2 separate regions of the Homo sapiens genome follow, and region 1 is linked to region 2. The links are contacts of gene promoters, found by promoter capture Hi-C in blood cells and fetal thymus (Javierre and others, 2016). All regions are on one chromosome and are shown on one strand. Each heading gives the region's core, a stretch centred on a gene start or on the middle of the fragment in contact. The rest is flanking DNA. Distances are from core to core; before and after follow the strand shown. Region 1 has its middle 170 kb from the start of LINC01289. Region 2 holds the start of MIR124-2HG (MIR124-2 host gene).

Region 1 (6,552 bases), core at 1,927-4,426, 780 kb before region 2:
CTTTTTGTATTCTTCCCTGGAACCTCCATACTGCTTATTGTATTTACCTCCATGATGTCCTATAAATTCTGTAAGCTTTCTTTATTCCTTATCATTATTTTTTCTCCTCTGACTGAATAGTTTCAAGTAATCTATCTTTGAGTTCATAGATTGCATTCTCCTTGATGAAATCTGAAACTTCTTATTGCATTTTTCATTTCATTACGTTTTTTTCAGCTCCAGAATTTCTGTTTTATTTAAATGATTTCTATCTTTGTTTAACTTCTAATTTTGTTCATGTATTATTTTTCTGATTTTGTTGAATTGTCTATTTTTGTTCTCTTGTAGCTCACTGAACTTCCTTAAAACAATTAATTTGAATTCACTGTCAAGCAATTCATAGATCTCCATTTCTGTTGGGTCAGTTACTGGAAAATTATTGTTTTCCTTTGGTGGTGTCATGGAAACATGTTTCCTTGATTTTTAATGTTTTTTGAAGTCTTACATTGCTGTCTTTAGATTTGGAGAAGCAATAACCTTCAATTTTCACTGACTGATTTGGGGAAAGAACTACCTTCACCTGTCAGCCAGACTAGAGATTCCGAGGCCCTCTCAGACCTTTTCTATGGATATACCCACTCCACACTTCTTGTTTCCTCTTGGAGGAGAACTCTTTAGATTCTCTCAATCCTACAAGGCCTAGCTGGATGATCAGTCTCCTGTTTGTTTTCCCTGGTGGGATGGAGTTGGGGGTGACCTGACATGCTCAAGTTTGTGTGCCTTCTAATTCTGTGGAGTTGAGCTTGAGGACCACAGGTGCTTGTGAGCCACCTGCAAATGCTCACACTTGATATCTGGGGGGCACATGAAGGGAGCTAGTCATATAGGAGAGATGGAAGGGGAGATATATGAAGCATTGGAGTCACCTGTGTGTCAGTTGATAGGAGAGTCTGTAGGTGAGGAATTTCAAGCCCCTTGCAGAGAGTCCTCTTGCTTGAGTCTGTCAAGCATTTAGTAGGATACACAGACTTTTGTTGAGTTTTGAGACCTAATTGCTGTGAGTCCTTGCCTCTGTTTTCTGCTCTCAGCTTCTCCTAGCCATTCAGCTGTGTTAACACCCTTAGTCCTATTGGTAGGACCAGAAAGAGGTAGGCTTCTTTGGCAGCATCTTGCATGGCTGGGGAAGGCAGGACTCACTGCACTCACTTTCCTCTGTGGAAGGACTCGTGGGCCAAGGACTTGAGGGTCTTTCTTGGCATTGAACTATGTCCCCTTGGGGTGGGGTAATGAGTAAAATGAAACTGTTTTTCTTATCCACTTCAATATGTGTGTTTTGTTATTTTTTGCTCCAATGGTGTGCTTGTACTTCTCCACTGGACTTCTGCCTATCAATGTAAGTGCACTGTGGGGAGATGATGGTAGAAAATGATTCCACCATTTTCTGATGTCAACCTTGAACTATTATATTTTAAAAATATCACCTTGTACTACATAGGATGGCAAGGGTGGAAGCGGAGAGATGATTGAAGACTGTAATAATGGAAGAAAGAAATGATGGAGTCAGGGTGGTAGCAGTGGACAGGGTTAAATTATGCATATATTTTGAGAGTAAAACTGACAGAATTTGCTATGGATTGAATGTGGAGTGGGAAGCAAGAGTGTTTTTAAGAATGACTCCAAAATCTTGGGCCTGAGCAACTGGAAAAAGGGAGTTGCCATTTAGAGATATGGCAAAGATGATGACAGGGACAACTTTGGTGATGTGGGTGGAAGAAAATTGGGAGCTTAATTTTATTATCCCTCTTTCTATTAGAGATCCAATAGGACATATAGAATAGATAGTTGGATAAAGGAGTTTGTTGTTCAGGGAAGAAGTCCGGGATGGAGATATAAACTTCAGAATCTTCAAAATGTAAGTGAAATGTGAAATTGGAAATTACAAGACTAGATGAAATCATCTATTAAGTGATTAAAGCCAGAGAAGAGGAGAGGTCTAAGGACTGAGCCTGAGCCTGAGTATGTCAACATTTAGACGCTGAGGTGATAGAAAAGGAGTGCCTATGCAGTAAAATGAGAACCACAGAAGTGGCATCCCAGCAGTCCAGTGAAGGGTAAATTTCAAGTAGGAGGGGTGATAAGCTGCGTCAAATGCAGCTGATAGGGCAAGGAACAAAATTGAGTTCAGTGTTGACACTCCTAGGAATTGTTTTGTAAATGAGTACCAACTACATCATAAATACTGGAGGCATTATAATATAATTTGCATAGCATTTCATTTCCACATTCCATTCTCATTTTCTATCCATCAACCTAAAACAAGTAAGTGGTCATTGGGCAGGTTCTTTTAAGCAGGCATCTCATTTTAGACACCAGGAAAATAACTACTTATTTTCTTCTAAAGAGCTCCAGGAATGAACTCTTCACACTCTCTGCCAGCCATTTTTGTGTTTTATCAACTTGAAGTTGAATACATTTATCTTTATGTTTAACTGAACTCTATCTTTAGGCTCATTTCTTCCTGTCAGGTCCTCTGCCAATATGGAGAGCAACCAATCACCATCACCTTCATAAAAATGCCCTCTGTGTACTTGAAACTGGTAATCAGATCACCTCTTAACCTGCTCTTCTGTAGGATAAACAATACTGCTGCCTTTCATCTTCACTTAAAGGCCCTACTTTTACCTCTTCATGCGTATGAAGATGGCATATTAAGTAAGTATGGTCTTCTGTGGGCCTTCTTTCCCCTGAGTCCCACAGATGTAACGTTTTATAATATTTATAATTCACAACCATATATTTACTTATAAGAAGCAAAAGAATGAATTTCTTCTAACTTAGATTATTTGATCTGATCTTAGTGTGCGTACTCCAAGAGTGCACATTTGTGTGGTCTGTGTGTTTGTGTGTGTCTGTGTATTGTGCATCTCTGTGTGTGTGTGTCTGTGTCTGTGTGTAAGCTGACAGAGAGCAAGAGCACCTGACTCACAATTTAGCTCAAAGAAAATCACTTTACCTCTGGTGGTTGCTTGCCAGCCAGCATGGTCATTCAGCTGCTTTCATTTATTAGCAAGATTCCATATTTCAGTATATCTGTGTGCCCTTGAAATGTCTGAAGCATTTGTCTTGCTTCTAAAATAGATAATAAGCTGGGTCTTTATCCAAGGAGCTTGGCTTCCTATCACGCTATTCACTTTTGTCCTGCCTCCAAAATATCCTATATCCATCCTTCAAGTTTTAATTTTTGGGCTATTGGAAATAATGACAAGTAAGCAGAAAAGCAACCTCAGAAGGAAAGGATTCAAGATCATAGAGTACAGATGGCAGGTGCTTCAGAAAGCAAATGGTCCTTAGAAGGGATATTGCAGCCTTATGGCTGAACAGGGGTCCCTAATGCACCAAGCATTTGTTGATTGTAGAGGGTATTTTAGTTAGCTGAAATTTTACACATTTTACATCTTGTGACATGAGTAATATCTCATGCATTTAATTCCATTTTAGCCACTCACCTTGGCTAAACAACTAATATGTCAATCAGCATCTAGGGTTTATAAACTGCTTGATTTTAATTTTTTTATATGTAAAATAGAGTATTCTGTAACCGTGAGCTGGAAATGCACTTTGATATACATTAAAACAAAAGAAGCTCTGTACAATGGGATGCTTTATTTGTGGGAATATCCACAGTGGAGAGGAAACCAAGGCACTTTACTAAGAAGATTTATAATTGTTTGGCTGCATCCAGATTCCCTAATTGTATCTGTGTCTGCAATCACTGATGTGCTGATCCAATTCAATATTCTGAAGCCTTGATTTTCTCGAAGGTTAAAGCTAAAAATAAAAGCAACACTGCTTTGTAATTTCTATTGATCCTGAGTTTATAATATCTTTGGCACTGGGGGGGATCATTGCTTATCCTGACGACCACAGTTTGCTTTTAGTCTTAGCTACTGATGCTATTAAATGGGCAGGTGAAATGTTCTCTGGAATGTTTTCTCTTCCAAGTGTTTCACACTTTACACAGAATATGTTAAAATAATAGGCCTTCATGCCATAAACCCACAAATGTGAGAGGGAGAAAATCCAGCTCCTCTATGCTATCTCACCCCTGCTGACTGCAGAGGTCTCTGAACAGTAGGGAGGCATAAATAAAATTTATCACTAGAGAAGTCTTCCAAAAGACTAGAAAGGTGAAAGAAAGTGTGTTTCTCTAGTAGATGGTATTTTCCATAGGGTAGGATGAGGCTTCCAGACCTTAAAATAACCACATTTATTCCTTGTGGAGCTTGGAGCTGGAAAACAGCAAAGCATGCAGTGGTGCACAAATGTGCACTGAAATTTTTAAAATGTTCACTGACCTTTTGGGAGCCTTCATGCTGTTTAAGAATCTGCTGACCTACCGGCAATTACTGCACATAAATGCCTAGCTTCTGCTGGGAATTCAACTTTCAGCTTTTGCTTGCTGCTTTTCTCCTTTCCTCCTTTCTCCAAGCAACCATGTTCTGCAGCAAGACCCTGATTGCCTCAGACCACAGGGAAAGCGTGGGGCCAGCCTCTCTGCCTGGGCTGGCTCTATACTGCTGTTTGCTTGCAAACATTCAGTTATCAGGAAATGTGGAGTCAGCTCCATTCCTACTCCAGTTAATTTTCTTCACCCCATGCAGTGGGTTTGTCTCTTCTGCTGCCCCAGCTGTTCTTGCTTTTCCCAAGGTGGCAGAGTATGCCCCAGCTGCAATCGTGCTTCCTACAAACTTCCTTAGTTGCCTACTTGACCTCAGCTGCCTGGCCTAGATTTTTCATTTCCTGAGACTTCACACCAACATTAAAAACTTAATGGTGACTGCTGCAGCAATAGCTGACAATGGCATTAATGGAGAGGGTGGCATGGTGTTTACTCAAGTCAGACCTGGGTTCAAATTCTGCCTCTGTTACCGTTATCTTAGGTGAGTTGCTTAACTTTTCTGAGCTATGTTTTCTTCAGCTGTAAAGTGAAGATATTGTTAGTTTGCTATAAGGATGAAAAAAATACCATGTAAAACTTCCAGCATATTGTAGGCCTTTCCTAACATCAGTTTTCGCCTCTGCTTCTCTTTCTGAAACTATACTCTGCTTTCTGTGGTCAGTTTGCAAGCGTACAAGATAAATAGCAACCCTACCACATGGGGCTTATAGACTATATGGGGATGTGAGACCTAAGTATGAGAAAAGGTAAAACCTACTCCAGGATTTAAACAAAATTTGAAGACTAACTATGGGTGATAAGCCAGAAGGCAGGAAACAATTGTATTTATGTGAAAAACAATGTGTTATAGGAATTGACTATGGAATGATTAAAAAAAAAATAGAAATGATGCAGTTTGAATTCAATCTTCAAGATGAGCAGAGCTGTTGTTTTTTTTTTTTTTTTGAGACAGAATCTCGCTCTGTCGCCCAGGCTGGAGTGCAGTGGCACGATCTCGGCTCACTGCAAGCTCCGCCCCCTGGGTTCACGCCATTCTCCTGCCTCAGCCTCCCGAGTAGCTGGGACTACAGGCGCCCGCCACCATGCCCGGCTAATTTTTTGTATTTTTAGTAGAGACGGGGTTTCACCATGTTAGCCAGGATGGTCTCGATCTCCTGATCTCGTGATCTGCCCGCCTTGGCCTCCCGAGTAGAGTTTTAATAGAACGAAGAAAGGAGGACCTCCTGGACAGAAGAACACTGAAATAACACTGTGGAGTCACGAAAGTGCAGGAGTGTGAGGAACTTGGAGGCCGCAGTTGTGGCTAGAGCAGAGGGTTTGTTCTGCAACAGTGGGAGAGGAAGCTGACAAGAGATGTTGGGACTGGGAGTCTGTGTCAGAGTTATCAACTAAAAATTCAGATGCTCAGTTAAACGTAAATTTCAGATGAACAACAAATAATATTTTAGTCTATGTTCCCAAATGCTGCATGGGTCACACTTACACTAAATAAAATTGTCTTTTATCTGAAATTCAAATTTATCTGGCCATCTTGCACTTTACCTGGCATTTTGTCTGATCTTATATACCAAGTCAAGGATTATGTCCTTGACCTTGAGTCACCGAGAATTTTAAAGAGAGGAGTAAACTGAAGAATAAACTTGAGTCAACTTGACAAAATACCAGAATGGCTGGGAGAGAGAGTTTAGAGGCAGGAAGATTGGCTCTGGTGTATTCTACCCTCATTTAAACCCCTGGCCTCACATATATAGAGAGAGAATTCTCCTGATAGCTTACTAGACAAAGATATATTTGTTCTTTCCATGACTTAGAGAATTATGGAATGTAAGGATGCTGGATAAAAGCTTAGTGCCTACATGGTTGTGCTTCAAATGAACATTAATCCAGGCACCAAGGACTATTAATATAACCCATGAAGAGCTGGCATCAGGAACCCATCATCTATCACCAGTGGAGGGGGAACACCTATAGCTCTTTGCAGAGTTCTTCCATCAGTGAATCTTAGTGAGGGGCATGGTTCCTGAAATATTGTTGCTTTGTTTTAATTTAGAGCTCACAAAGATAAGGAAGAAGTTTAAATAGTAATGTTCTTAAACAAACTTAGATAACACTGG
Region 2 (6,489 bases), core at 2,312-4,811:
AGGGGGTGCCGGTGGGGGCAGCGGGGCGAGGCGAGGTCGCAGGGAGACGACCAGGCCTGCTTGGGCCTGGGCCGCTCCAGCCGCCTCGCCTCTTCAGGGACCTCGCCCCGGGACCACCCGAGCGGACCCACAGCTTCTGAGGAAACAGCTGCCTCGGGCCTAAGGGTCTTTGCTTTCCCCCAACGCATGCAAGCGTGGGTCGCCAGCCCAGCATGTCTGGCGTGGAGGCCGGAGGAGGGTGGGGAGCTGGCGGTGCCCTATGGCCAGACGAGTAAAAGTCGGTTAGTGTTTTATGCGCCTGGGGGAGGCGAAGGGCGCGGGCTTGCGGGGCCCGGGCTGCGAGTATTGGGAGGGGGCGCCTCGTGAGGCCGTGCGAGGCCGCCCTCCCCGGCAGGCCTCGTCCACGCCCTTGTGGCCTCCCAGACCCGCTGCGCTTTGGCTAGGCGTCCCTACGCGCCTCCACCTTCTCCAGGTGCACGCCTGGGCGCGGAGCTAGGCTGAGCCCCCAGCGAGGGGCGTGGGGCGAGGGGCGAGGGGCGAGGGCGTGGGCGCCACGCAGGCCGCGGAGCCTGGTGGGCGGCGTGAAGCGTGCACTGCGCCTGCCTGCCCGGTCCCAGCCTGCCGCCCAGAGCTCCCCGACCAAGCCTTGACAGCTCTCGGAGCAGCGAGAAGAAGAAGAGGAGGAAGGACACAAAGAGGAGGAGGCGGCGGCGGGCGGCGAACTGAGGGCAGCTCAGGGGGAGGAGGACTCATTGTCCGGTCCCCCCAGTCCAATTGATATGCTAATCTCTTTTCTGATGCCACAACAAAGAACACCTTTGCACTTTTAAAAGACTTTTGTGCCCTGGCTACAGAAGTTTATTATCCACTAATTAGCAACAACTTCTGGCAACGAGTTGGGTTACATTTTCATAAGTTCCAGGCCTGAGCGACGAGGTGCGCAGGGCAGGAGGAGGTTTGAGAGCAGGGCAAACCCGAAACCTGGCGCTAGAAAGGAATCACCCGCTCACTTTCCTAGGCATAGGGCGCCAGGCGGGGATCGAAAGCGAAAAGTGTCCGGAAAAAGGTTCTTAAGGCTGGGGATGGGGTGAGGTGGGGTGGAGTTGATCGATTTGGGCCCAGGGTGGCTGATGACCTTATTGGACCCGATTCTGTGATCCCCATCCCGAGAGCTGCACGGAGGCGGAGACTGTGGCTGCCGTGCAGGTGTCCCGGCCCAGCCATCTGTATGGGGTGGGGGTGGGGTGAAAGTCTTGGACTAATGGTGGGGTGCTTGCCTGTGATCTCTCTCACGTTTTCCTTTGAGGCCTCCACTCGGAATAAGCCGCCGGCGAGGGAGCGGCCCATTCGTGGGAAACGCGCCCACCGCTTGGGTTCTTTCCTAAGGCCTCCCCACCAACAAGGCTGAAATTCCAAGGCCCTGGAAGATGAGGCAAAGCTAGCATTGCCAGAGTCGGGGGAGAGGGGAGGATGCTGGGTAAAGTGCCCACCCGGGGTGGTCTAAAGTCGTCACCCCACAGAGCAGATTCTGCTGCTAACCAGAGCAGAGAGCCGCACCTTCCCAGCGGCGGGCCCCAGTGCGCACAGCGTGACTTTGCCTCCCCCAGGCTCAGCAAGTCGTTGACGATCTTTAGCAGTCCCGCATCCCAGGTCAATAAACTGGAAACGGATAGAATGAGAATCATGGATGAGAGATAAAGGGCAGCGGGGTGATGCGCATTTCTTGTAGTGCCTCCAAAAAACCGTGGTCTCTCGCCGCTAATAAAACACCCTTGTGGTGAGGCCTTTGGTCTGGTCTCAACTGCAGAGATGTTTTGTCTTAGGTAATTCGAGCCCCCAAATCCAGCACCTTGGGATTATATTATACACACACTTATATTCTTTCTGTATTTTTTAAAATTCTTCTTTCATTTTTGGTTTGCTGCTTTTTGCAAACGACCCGGTTGGAGATATTGTTGGATATTTCAAGCAGATGTCAGGTGGGTGTTGGCGGCCTGTGAGTCCTCCTGCAGTAGCAGCAGCAGCCAAGTACGGTTTGATAAATGCTCAAGGTGAAATGTGGCCTTACTCAAAACCCCAGGGTGATTTAGGGTAGAAGAGCGAATATTCAGAGGCGGGAAGTGGTGAGTTATATTGTTACATTCCCTTTCGATGGAACTAAATGCGGTTATCTGCGGTCCTAACCTCTCTCGCATCGGAGTGCAATGTTTCTGAACAAGCTCTGTTAGAACTGGAAAATGGGAGGGGGTGAGGGAGCCCACTGACGACTTAACGGAATCTTACTGAAGAAAATACAAAGATAACCGAGATATTCATGATATTACATCTCATGATCTTCCAGACAAGCGTCTCTCCGGAACAAGAAAATATTCCCAAATTTCTCCCTAGCAGTGGCCTTGGGTGGAGTGAGGGAGGAGGTGGGTGGTGAGTGTAGAGAAGAGAAGGTCTCTCTCTGTTGTCACCCTCAGCCCCCTTCATTGAGGAGGAACAATGGCCAGGCCTGGAGTTCTTCCTGAAAGAGAAACTGCAGGAAGGCAGAGTTGCTCTTTGTACCCCAGCCCCTTTAGAGGAGGGGGAGTCATACACAGGATCCCCCTGACCACTGGGCGGTGTCCGGGAGATCAGAACCCCTCAGATACTCTGGGAGCTAAAAAGGCGCCGCCCTGTCCTCCCAGAAGTCCCACGCAGTCGCTGGAAGAAACCCAAGCAAAACCCAGCGACCTCAAAATTCGCCAGGGGGATAAGCGGGGAGAGGAAAACCACTCACTCTCACATGCCCTGTCAGTCCCCCCACGCCACCATCCCAATGTCTGATCAGGCTTGATTCTGCTGACGTGTGTATTTCAGATTAAGGATGTATTTATTTATTTATTTATTTATTTAATCCTTCAGATCTTCCCACCCCATAAAAGAGACTTAATTCCTTTCCAGGGCGACGGGTTGATAAAAGGCTCCATTTTAAAGCAATGGGGGAATCATATGACTGTGACCTTGACATGTGAAAGGGGGGAGGGGCAGGTAGTTTGGGGCCCAGACCTTAGGCCTCTGCAATTCTGGGGCGTTCTAGGCCCTTGATAAGAACATCAACAAGAGGGATTTATTTTCAAAGGTTACCATTAGCAGTTCATTCACTAAAGTTGAGAATTCGGTATTTTTATATTACGTGAAATACATGATTTAATTATACTCCAAAAACAAATTAAGGACAGGCCTTCTACACAAATTGGAGGCAGCTAAATGCTCTTTTGTGCCTGCAGCCCTCGGGTTGTTAAAGAGGCTGCTGATGCATGAGAAGTAAGTGACTGATTTAACTCATTGGGATGCAGGAAGCGACCTGCCCTCTTTTGAAAAAAAGCGAGAGAGAGAGAGAGAGAGAAAGAGAGAGAGAGACTTCGAGCTTGAGAGAGGGAGGGGAGAGGAGAGGAGGGAGAAGGAAATGACAGAGAGAGAGAGAGAAAGGAGAGAGAGAACGCAGAGGGAGGGAGGCAGGGAGGGAGACCAAACCCCCGCTTTACTGCGTTGAAAGCTTCTGAATTTCAAGCAGAAAGTAGAAGGAGCTCCAAAGGCAGTGAGCGTCTTTCCTTGGGCTGCGTGTGCCGAGCGTAGACAATGAAAATCTTCATCCCCCTCCCCCATTCTACTAGGCTACAAGATTCTTGTTTTCGTTCCTTCTCACCGGTGGAAGATGTGTAAAATCAAAGATGTAGAGGTGTGTAGTGATTTTTTTAAAAGCCAACTAACCACCGCACGGACTGCGACGCGGATTACCCGAGCGCACGCCGGCTGTAAGTACCATCCTTTCCTGCGGTAGCCGGGCTCTGCGTCCCCGGCTGGGCTGGGAGTGTTCGCTTTGTGAATCGGGTTGTTGCTTGTGTTTTGGTGTTTTGGTTCACAGGGGCTTCTTCGAAGCTTACACTTTTCGCACGTGAGCGGGAGAAGCGTTTCGCCGGTTGTGGGCGTGCAGAACACGATCCTGGTTGACTTTGATGCGGTGACTTGGGGTGGCGGGCGGGGGGCGGCGGGAGGCGCGGAGTCGAGGAGTTCCCGCGTCGCGAGCATGCTTGAGAGCCGCCGGCTCAGCTCCGGGCTGTAAGGTTGGTTCCTGGCAATGGATGGAAATCAGGTCACAGAGATCCCTAAGCTTGCCAGGCTCTCAGACACGCTTGGGAGACAGAATGGAATTGGAAGGAGGGATCTGAAGAGGAGGGAGGGGATCCGTGTTCCCCCACCCCGGGCCTAGAATGGAGCCCCGGCCAGCCGCGGGCCGGGCCCCTTGGTTTTCAGGACTTATTCTTGCCGGGGTTGGCTCGCACGCCAGCATCGCGCCTTCGGTGCGTCTTTTATCTCCATCTCAAATATGGGATCTTCTTGGGACGAGGACTGAATGAGGGTGGGAGAGAGGGTGTGTCTCACGGCGCCCAGGAGGGAGAAATTGTGGTTCTGAGAAGGTATTTTTTGGCCTCTTGAAAATGTGCAAGAATTCCGCGGGCCCAGGCTTTCTTTGTGTGGCGGGCAGCGCCAAGCGCTTTGTGCTTCACAAGGAGAAAATGGCGAGTCCTATTGTGTTTAGGCCATTTTCTTCCGGTACTAGGATTTTCCCAAGTTCGAAATACTTCTTGAGAAAGTAGCCTTCTCGTGCCCAAGAAAGTGTGAATCGCTGAGGCTCGGCCCCATGGCCTGGCGTGGGTGCTGACCTCAGTTTAAAACCAAGGGCCTGTTTTCTTACCGTTGGGGTACTTGTATCAAAGCACAGATATGACCGGTTTGTGCGGATCGGTGTCCTCCAAAGATCAACAGCGGCTCTTGGGGTTTGGAAAAATAAGTGTCTATTTATATATGCATATATACATATATATAAAAAACATATTTTTCCTGACAATGTGAAGGAGAAAATAAAAAACGAAGGACAATTACGTTTTTGAAAGAGGGAATATTTCTTTCCCTTTCTCCTTTCTCACGCTCGAGGAAACCCCAGGAGATGTTAAATGTTACTCTGCCGGGTCAGTCTCTTATTTTTTAAACTGAAGATGAAATGCTATTTTGGCTAGAAGAATTATTCCGCATCTTAGCCACTGGAACATATGCTTTGCTACAAAAAAAGTGTAAGGTGTTAGAGATGGATTTAGTTTAATGCTCTTAGCGTGTGTGTGTGTGTGTGTGTGTGTGCTATCTATATGCCTCTATATAGTGATGTAAATATGGAGAGAGAGATGATTGAAAAGGTTGTTTAGCTTTTGCCCCTGAATTTGTCATTTTTGTAATTTTTCTGCACTTGTTAAACCATATGTAAAAGTGGACAAGGATTCCTGTACAACAATGTCTATGTCTCTTTTGAAAACCGCCAAAAAAGTATTGCAGGTTGAAAGATATTATTTCCTGTTTACTACAATTATTTGGATCTTTAAATGGAGTGGTGGTTTTGTGAGCTCAAAAATAATGAAATGCAAACTATCTGCTTCCTGTACATTCAATTTGGTGGCAAATATAGAAAAATGAGAACAACTGGGATGAGGAAGAGAACCTAAAGCCTATAGCATTTCCCCCTTTTGCTATCATTTTAAATGCTAGGGAGTCTAATTTGTGCAGAAGCATTGTGACTTTCATTTTTCAAAAGGTAACACTAGCATGTCCTTTCATGTGGATCAAGACCATGGACAGCGAACTAATATTAAATCACTGAGCAAAAAAGGACTCTAATAAAATTTTGAGACCTGAGTGAAAGTTTACATTCAAAGCATGTTAGAAGTCAAAAATAATCTTTATGGTCTTTAAAAGGAATTAGACTGGTAAAATGTGGCATTTCAAACTTATTCTACCAAGTTTCAAAGAAACAATGATTATGTGTTCAGTTTTTACCCTGCCTCAAATAGTATATATTACTTATCCAATTAAAATAAGATAAAGCCCACCTTTTGGTACTGGTAAATATAAAATTTAAAACTATCAGTTTTAGATGTAGAACGTTTTTTATAAGGCCTTGAAACAGAATGGGGATGGAGAAATTTTACTATTTTAGACTGGCATTGGCTGAATGACACTACAGAAAATTAAATTGATTTTTATCAGTGAATGAATTTCTAAATGCATAAAATTGGGAAAATTAAATGCCACTTTGATAGACAGGAATAATATGAATGGAGATATAATCCGGCTATTCCTTCTACTCCCGTGTAGGCATTGTACTCTATAACTGACAGTGCAATGTTGTGAGCAAGCATTTATTTTTTTTCCAAGAAAGTCACAGATTTTTTCATATATACTGATTAGATTTGGGACACAGGATTGGTTCAGTGTGGGTCTGTGCTGGAGATCAGCTTATTTTGTTTTATACATTGTTTGAATAGTCTTTACTCCTTTACAGAATTAAAATTCATTTAAAACCATTTCATTTGTGGATTACATAACTTATTCAAAATTGCTCATTTAAATTTCCAGTTTGATGTGTCTTTTAGCTTATTTCATAACCTGACTTTAGTGTGACCTGTAAAG

The links. Contacts are between HindIII fragments. The CHiCAGO score rates a contact against its expected background, and 5 or more counts as called.
Region 1: a fragment that was not itself captured here is called in contact with the fragment with the promoter of MIR124-2HG in region 2 in 1 of 17 cell types (M1 macrophages); the score reaches 7.6 in M1 macrophages.

Annotation. Positions count from the first base shown.
Region 1 is chr8:63,593,111-63,599,662 of GRCh38, forward strand. No RefSeq gene overlaps it. Among named protein-coding and RNA genes, the nearest start is that of LINC01289, 170 kb to the right of the region's middle. The HindIII fragment of the contact is 6,207 bases long and covers 74-6,280 here.
Region 2 is chr8:64,369,767-64,376,255 of GRCh38, forward strand. MIR124-2HG (MIR124-2 host gene) reads left to right here and starts at 3,562. Exons shown (of 3, transcript NR_109792.1): 1 at 3,562-3,785. RefSeq lists enhancers at 313-838, 839-1,365, 1,366-1,890, 3,040-3,580. The HindIII fragment of the contact is 383 bases long and covers 3,525-3,907 here.